Regions from separate parts of the Homo sapiens genome. Here all the other regions are linked to region 3. The links are contacts of gene promoters, found by promoter capture Hi-C in blood cells and fetal thymus (Javierre and others, 2016). All regions are on one chromosome and are shown on one strand. Each heading gives the region's core, a stretch centred on a gene start or on the middle of the fragment in contact. The rest is flanking DNA. Distances are from core to core; before and after follow the strand shown.

Region 1 (2,700 bases), core at 148-2,647, 280 kb after region 3:
ATATCACCTTGCGGTCACTCAGCCCCAGCCACAAGGCTCTCCAGGCACCCGCCGGGGCAGTGGGAACCAAGGCATGTGGTATGAAGAGATGAGAGACCGGATGCGGTGGCTCATGCCTGTCATCTCAGCATTTTGGGAGGCTGAGGAGGGCGGATCACCTGAGGTCAGGAGTTCGAGACCAGCCTGGCCAACATGGTGAAACTCTGTCTCTACTAAAAAACACAAAAATCCGCTGGGCCTGGTGGCAGGCACCTGCAATCCCAGCTACTCGGGAGGCTGAGGTGGGGAGAATTGCTTGAACCCAGGAGATGGAGGTTGCGGTGAGCTGAAATCGCACCACTGCACTCCAGCCTAGGCAACAGAGAGAGACTCCATCTCAAAAAAAAAAAAAAAAAAAAAAAACAGAGATGAGAACAACACTGTGCTGCAGAAAGTGGGGGCCTGAGGTTCAGAGAGGGGCACCTACTAGCCCACAGCTGTGCGGCCAGATCGAGCCAAAATCAGTATTTATCTTTGGCCCTAAGACCCCAAATCCCAGCTTCCAACAGAAGAAAACATATGGGGCAGAGAGAAGGAGCCAAGGAGAGGCCTGGTTATTGCTCATCCCATTGAAACAGTCAAACACTCTCTAAACTAGCTAAATGGTTCTGAAGGAAATGGGAATCTATTTTGTCTCCTGTCGCCAGGCCTGCAAATCCTGATATATCTCAGGCCACGGCAGCGAAGCGGATGGCTCAGCACTTGGAGACATGCCCACACGAGGCAGGAAGTAGGGTGGATGATTCAACAGGTACCTCTCTATTCTGAGAACTGGTCCTGTGATGGGTGAGTGTACATGCAGCTGAAATAAAAAATGATTTAGAATGTCGACCACTGGAACGCACAGCAAAGCCTCCCTTTCTTCCTGGGGGACTTGTGGCATTCTTTGGGGCTTTAATCTTTCCAGGTTTTCTAGTTCTGAAATTTTGCTGAGACAACAAGGTTCTTGGGAGGCTGGGGTGGGCTGGTGGCTCCAAAGCTTCCTTTCCTGCTGGCACAGCCTCCAACAGGATGATAAAATGGCTGCCGTCCTACCTGGGACACCATGTTCCTTGCCCTCAGTCTTCCTCATCTGCAGAATGGGGGTAGTGATCTCTGCCTAACCGAGACAGAAAAGTTTGGTACAGGTAGCACAGCTCCACAATTTCTTATCTGAAATCCTCGCGGCTCAATGTGCTTTATCAATTTATGTATTTTATTTTATATTTTATTTATTTTGAGACACAGTTTCACTCTGTCGGCCAGGCTGGAGTGCAGTGGCCCGATTTTGGCTCACTGTAACCTCCACCTCCTGGGTTCAAGCGATTCTCATGCCTCAGCCTCCCCCAGTAGCTGGGATTACAGGGACCCACCACCACGCCTGGCTAATTTTTGTATTTTAGTAGAGATGAGGTTTCACCCAGGCTGGTCTCAAACTACTGACTTCTGGTGAGCTGCCCGCCTTGGGCTCCCAAAGTGCTGGGATTACAGGTCTGAAGCCACCACATCCGGCCTCAATGTGCTTTATAACTTGGAATTCTTTGGATTCCTGAAAGGTTTTCGAGTGGATCTACCGCATATCAGGTGACATGCCAGTGAGCTCTGGAGCAATATTCCATAAACCCTTTAATTTTTCTGCAGCAAAATGTATAAATATTCACGCTAAGTGGGACAAAATAAAGACTATAAATAACCTCACATCCAATTCATATCAGGTTTGCCATCAAATGCTTGCCCCAATCTCATGAAAAAGCTTTAGATTTTCAGAGCTTTGTGGGTTTTGGAATTGTGCATGGAGAGTGCCAGCTTTGGTTTCAGCCACACCTGGGTTTCCATTCCAAATGCACCCTGACCAGCTGGCTCACCTGGGGCAAGACATTCCTCCTCTCTGAGCCTCAGTGTTCTCGTCTATAAAATGGGGTGATGATTCCTATGGTGCTTCTTAAAAGATAAGCAAGGAAACGCAAGTTGCCACTCTGGAAGAGAGGTTGGCCACACTGACCGGTCCCAATGAGGTGAATCCACCACAGGATATCCGGGATCTTTCTGCACACAAGGCGGTGGCAGACTCCCTTTGACCAAACTTACAAGGCTGACGCATAGCAGAAGATCCATTTATTATTGGAGAGCACAGTAAATACCCCACCAGCAGAATGGAGCACTTCCATCAGCCTAACCAGCACGTGCTTCCCTACAGCACAAGTTCCATGAGGATCCACGGTGTCACAGCACTGCTTGGTGGCAGGGAGTCAGAATAAACAACAGCATTAAGAAGCATTTATCGGCCAGGCACGGTGGCTCACGCCTGTAATCCCAGCACTTTGGGAGGCCGAGGCGGGCGGATCATGAGGTCAGGAATTCGAGACCAGCCTGACCAACGTGGTGAAACCCCATCTCTACTAAAAATACAAAAATTAGCCAGGCATGGTGGCAGGCACCTGTAATCCCAGCTACTAGGGAGGCTGAGGCATAAGAATCACTTGAACCTGGGAGGCAGAGGTTGCAGTGAGCCAAGATTGCACCACTGCACTCCAGCCTGGGTGACACAGCCAGACTCCATCTCAAAAAAAAAAAAAAAAAAAAGTGTTTATCACAGAGCAGCTTGAAGCCACCTCTGTTTTGGGAGGACAGTCTTACCCGGGGAATGGGGATGATGCTTGAGCCAGCGCAACCAAGAACCTG
Region 2 (2,700 bases), core at 185-2,684, 380 kb before region 3:
CCTTTCTCTGCACTACCCTTGGCGATTCTAGATCTCGTAAAAACTGCTTATCACCTCTTTGAAAATACCTTGTATACCTGGGTTAAGTGCTAACCTTAGTTAAGGCTTACCGGTTTCACCTGGGAGGTTACTGTTAGTGAAGTTCAAAAGCCAGAAATATTGGCTGTTTGTCCCGGCTAGAGTCTGGTAACAAGATTTGGTTAAAAGTCAGCTTAATTAAAAATGGATATCCAAGCTATACATATATTTAAAAGGCCTTTATGCTTTTTTTTCTCTTCTTGGCTCTTATTTTTCTGAAAAATTTTTTCTTTTCAGTCGACTTAATTTTTTTCCCCATTTTGTCTTCTTGCCACTCTTGATGCCCCACCTGAGAGGACCTAAGATAAATTTTAATAGCCTGGGACTTCTCAGGAAAAAAGGAGGTGCTACAGACCCTGTTTTGGGAGAAACCTCTGTTCTCCTCATGGACACCCCCAGGAATTGAAAGCAGATAGACCACTCTCAAAATCTAAGGCTCTGCTCTGTTTTGTATTGTGTTATCTGACAGTTTTGACTTTTGGGGATATCAGAAATTACTTTGCATTTTAAGAGAGCTTTTAGCCTTGCTATGTAATAACTAGGTGGGGAATACACTTTTAGGGATGGCTAATGGCAGTTTTGTGGGGATACTTGGCTCTTCGCACCTTTGGATCAGAAAAGCATGCTCTTGGCCACCTAGAAAGTATGGAAGTGTCCCCACCCTCCATTGAAAGATAAGACTGCCATGGGGGATGGGCTGATTCCCTCTCTTTGGGATCCAGGATCCAATATAAAAATGAAACCCTTAATTTTGGGGTTCTGTTTTGCCTTCCAGCTGTGCCTGCTTATTAGGCCTTAGAAACTGCAGGCTTTCCTGGCCCTGTTTCTTGAAGGGCTCCACCCTGAAGTCAGTAATCCAATTAAGAAACTTAAAAATTGGCAAATGAAAAATCTTACAACTACTGGATCTTCTGTCTGTGTATTTATATATGTTGTGTGTGTGATGTTGATATATGAAAGAGCTCTGATTAATTGGCTTAAAAATAATAAGTACTTAAATCAAATATTTTGTCAGAAAAATAGAAACATTAATGCCTTTTGGTTCACATGACTTTAATAATCTTTGGGAAATAGAGACAGTTTTAAAGATTATCAGTAACATTAAAATATCTTCAAACTTTAGACATTTGGTCTAAATTAGGCAGGTCAGATTTTAGGTTTGCTAAATGCCTCAAGGTCATAAACTGCATCATTGACTTTTGAAAATTGCCCAGCTTACCTGCTTTGGGGCCATTAGATTCTAGATAAGGCCTGGGGACTTGTCGAGTTAGCCATGCCCCCAGCTATGCTGGAAAGAGTCAGACCTTATCTGCACTTCTGCAGATAAGGCTGTCCTAGGCTCCACACCTGGAATATAAGTAAAACTGCTTACTTACCAGGTTTTTCACCAAAAAATAAAAGTTGCTAAGAGTTAACATCGTAATATGTTATATGTAATTGAGACTACTAGAGAAACAGTTTTATATGCAAGGTGTGTAAGGAAAATTGAATATGCTTTTGGTAAGAAGATTATAAGAAAGCATGGGAATGTGGACTTTCCCCCTACTTTAGAGGGTTAAAGGATTGTTTCAAGTTAGGTAGGATAAAGCTGAAGGTTTGAGCAAGTTATGGAAGGTTTGTGAAAGATTAATCTTGTAAAAGAAATTCTGTGTGAACTTATTGGCTTAAATTAAAGGGATATTATTCAGTTTTTCCATAAATTAAATATGGAATAAAAGTATAACAAGGTTTTCTTAGAGCACTGGTATACTCTTTAACAAGAAAATTGTAAAGAGCTATAAAAGGTTTATGAGACTCTTACCTCATGGTCAAACATTAAAATTGGATAGAGTTGTCTATAAGGCTTTATTATGAATTGGGTTTGACATTAATAGTACACAAATGCAAAGGTAAAATTTGGCTTTCTCTCTTGAACAAGTTTTTCATGTAATATTGAAAAATAATTAAAGATTTTTGTTTGCCTTTTGAATAAGCTATAGAAAAAAGAAAGGAACGAAAAGAGACAGTTTTTTTTGGAAAGCTAAGTCTTCCCTTTATCGGTGAGTAAAGGTTTTTGCCCTTAAAAACATCTTTGAGTTATCATTTTGGCCAAATAAATGACTTATGGTGACCTGGGATGCTATTTTGTAGTATCAAATGTTTTAAATTTTTGATATTTGACAAACTTTCCAAAATCAAATTCTAAGTTATGCCTTTTTCTAACCTGATTAGTCCTTTAGATATTAGGTCCCCTAAAGTCCAAAAATGACATATTTGGCTTATTTGGTACATTAAAATAATACAGGAAGCATTGTCAAATATGAAATTGTGTTTGGCTTTCTTTGGGCTGTGTTTATATAAATATGTTATTGGTATGTGTTCCAAAATTATGGGAAACTCCTATAATTCTGATATGAACATTATCAATACTAATGGACATTATCAATAATAATTATAATTGTTATGATGTTAATTTATTATATGCCACAGAGGTATCCACATTTCCTAGTCAATGATATTAATTCTTTAACCATGACTGCTCTAAGTCTTTCTGTCATCCATAGACAATTGTTGTCTTGCTTTTATTCTCTTCAAAAGGTGGTTTATAATCAGCTATAGGACTCTGATGAGTACTCTTAAATG
Region 3 (2,700 bases), core at 168-2,667:
AGGGAGGGGGCAGCTGGAGCCAGCAGAGGTATCCTAAGGTTTCCAGGAAGGGCAGCCATCCAGGGCTGAGCTGCAGGAGACAATGTTGACAGCGATGTCAGGGAACTTGAGTTACTGGGCAGCTGGACAGCTGCTCTCCCTGGTCCCCACCACCCAGGGCCACCACAGCCCAAGGCCCTGCCTACCTGCCAATACCTTAAGTTGCAGTCCCCAGGTCCCACTACATGGGACCACTGACGTCATCAACACATCAGAAGGAGACAGAAGCCCAGAGAAGGTCACAACCCAAGGTCACACTGGGACTTAGTGCAGCCCAGGATCTAGAACCCAGGCCTCCTGACTCCCTGTCCAGCGCTCACACACTCTAGAAGCAGCTGGTTGCAGCTTGAAACCTTGGGAACCATGGGGAAGAACACAACGGGTCTCTGGCTGCATACAGATAGGCACCGTGACATTTTTCCAGAGGTGAAGTTCAGACCCCTACACCTGCTTAGGTTGTCTAGAAAGTGTGGTCTGAAGGTGCTACCCTTCTTCCAAACACATATGGGGCTTTCTGGGAGGGAGCATAGCAATTCCAAGCGGACTCTCCCACCCTACTCTGCCCAAAAAAGGTTTATAGGAGTAGGGGGAGTCTGGACCCATGATGCCAGGACCCAGGAGACCAGGAAAGCAAGTAGTTAGTAGAGATCTGAGAAGTGTTCTTCGAAAAATCAAGCCAGCAAAAAAATAAAAAATAAAAGTAAAACATCAAATCAGGTTTTAGAATATGCATCCCTGGCCAGATGTGGGATGGGGCACCCGAAGTGGGCCCCAGCAGCTCCTGCCTGTCCCTGTCCCTGTCCCTGCCACCTCCTCCCTGCGTCGGGTGGGTCAGGTTTCAGGACCTCAGCGCTCAGATTTTGCAGCATAAATTTGCATCCAGGACAGACCAGAGCAGAGGCTGAGGTAGGAGTGGAGAGAGAAAGGGAGCAGGGCCTAGGAGGTCCTGAGGTGCAGGCTGGCCGCTGAAGGTTCAGGATCTTCCCCCACGCGGCAGGACATCCGCCAAGGTTCCCAGATCTGAGACGGCGCACCTCCTGCGTGTCCTTGACGGCAGGTGGACTTTCCAGACCCAGCTGGTGACGCCAGTGCCCCCTAAATCCCAGAGGTGGCCCCTTCCCTCGTGCCCTGGCCGCAGCCCCTGGGATCCCGCGGACCCCTGGCCTGGCGGTGCAGGAGTGGTAGCAGGTCCGCGCGCCTTCTTGCCGGCGGCCGGCGCTGCTCAGCGGCGCGGCTGGACTGAGCCGCTCCCGCTGCGCTCAGAGTCCGGGCCCCTGGCGCCATGCCAGGCCCGGCGGGCGTGCGCCCGGCGCGCAGCACTGCAGCGCTGGTCATATGAGCAGAAATGATGAGAAAAGCACTTTTTAATCTTTTCGCACTTGCTCTGCCCGCTCAAACAGTTGCAGGATGTCGATGACAGACTTGCTGAACGCTGAGGACATCAAGAAGGCGGTGGGAGCCTTTAGCGGTGAGCAAGCGCGCTCCCCTCCCCATCCCTCTCCCCTCGTCCACCGCCCGCGCCCCTGCACTCCGCCGGCCCCGCAGCCGGCGGATCCTCCCCAGCGCGCTTCTGCCCACACTTCCCGCTGGGCGCCGGCGAGGTCGGGGCGGGGGCGTCCTTGGCAGTTCCCAAACTCTGTCCGGGCGAGGCTTGGCGCGGGGAGCGGGCGGGGAAGAGGGCGCCCCGCCTAAGTTACAGAAACTTGAGGGTGCTGAAGGCCCGGTGGCTGGGAGGACTCAGGGTCCGGGACCAAGGGCGAAGACCAGGGTCGGAGGAGAGACCTCCAGGGTCCTTGTACGAGCTCTCTGGACGTCCTCTTTAAGGCACTTAGAGGGGACTGCAGGGGGCATCCTCCTCTCCAAGAGACCCCTTTCCTGGACCCTCATTCTGGACAGGACTTTTCCCGCCAGGCGGTAGCCTTTGTTGGCCCCCTGACTGTCCTAGTTCCTTTACTGAGATTCAGCAACGGACCTGCGGGCGAGGTGACCTTCTGGAGCCGGCGCACAGCTCTGCCTAAGCCCGCACGGGGCATCCTCAGTGCCTCAAACCTCCAGCCTCCTTAGGCGGGCAGGGGAGGGGAACTGGCAGTCTCACCTCTCCCAGCTGCCCGGGACTTCAGCGCTAAGCTGCCCGCCTTCCTCCTCCCCTGTCCTCCAGATGGGGAAATCAGGGAACTGTCTTGGAGAGGACAAGACATTTGCCCAAGGTCACCTAGCTGGGCAGAAGGGGTATTAGAACTGGGTTGCCCAGCCTAGTGTCGGAGGTGGACAGGGCAACTTTCCTTGTCTCTAGCCCTGTGCTGAGGGGAAGAGAACATGACTTCAACAGCCATTCCCTACACACACACACACACACACACACACACAAAATACATGATCTAACATTGTACCCTTCCCCAGGTGTTCTAAAACAGGACCCCAAGATACAGAAAATTGCAGGTAGAAAAGGACCCCCATTTCCTTTCTGCTTTGCACCCCCTCCCCTGGGCACAAGAACCTCTCTGGGAAGCCACCCTCCCAGGGTCCTGGGATAACCCTCTCCCTTCACCTCAAGCCCATGTGGGAAGAAACTTAACTGGGTGTTTCTCGGGAGCCTCCTAACACCCCCTTCCCACTGCCTCCGAAGTGGATTTCTGCGCAGAGCCAGGACTTCCGGGTTTG

Evidence for each region. The method cuts DNA at HindIII sites, captures the fragments that hold promoters and counts their contacts. A CHiCAGO score of 5 or more calls a contact.
Region 1: a fragment that was not itself captured here is called in contact with the fragment with the promoter of PVALB in region 3 in 6 of 17 cell types (endothelial precursors, M1 macrophages, M2 macrophages and 3 more); the score reaches 9.6 in endothelial precursors.
Region 2: a fragment that was not itself captured here is called in contact with the fragment with the promoter of PVALB in region 3 in 1 of 17 cell types (monocytes); the score reaches 5.1 in monocytes.

Annotation. Positions count from the first base shown.
Region 1 is chr22:36,540,297-36,542,996 of GRCh38, reverse strand. No RefSeq gene overlaps it. Among named protein-coding and RNA genes, the nearest start is that of EIF3D, 12 kb to the right of the region's middle. The HindIII fragment of the contact is 753 bases long and covers 1,021-1,773 here.
Region 2 is chr22:37,191,089-37,193,788 of GRCh38, reverse strand. It overlaps a transcript of C1QTNF6 not described here. Among named protein-coding and RNA genes, the nearest start is that of C1QTNF6, 4.2 kb to the right of the region's middle. The HindIII fragment of the contact is 3,971 bases long and covers 1-2,700 here.
Region 3 is chr22:36,815,752-36,818,451 of GRCh38, reverse strand. It overlaps PVALB (parvalbumin), which reads left to right and starts at 1,417. Exons shown (of 4, transcript NM_001315532.2): 1 at 1,417-1,507. The coding sequence starts at 1,447. The HindIII fragment of the contact is 33,107 bases long and covers 1-2,700 here.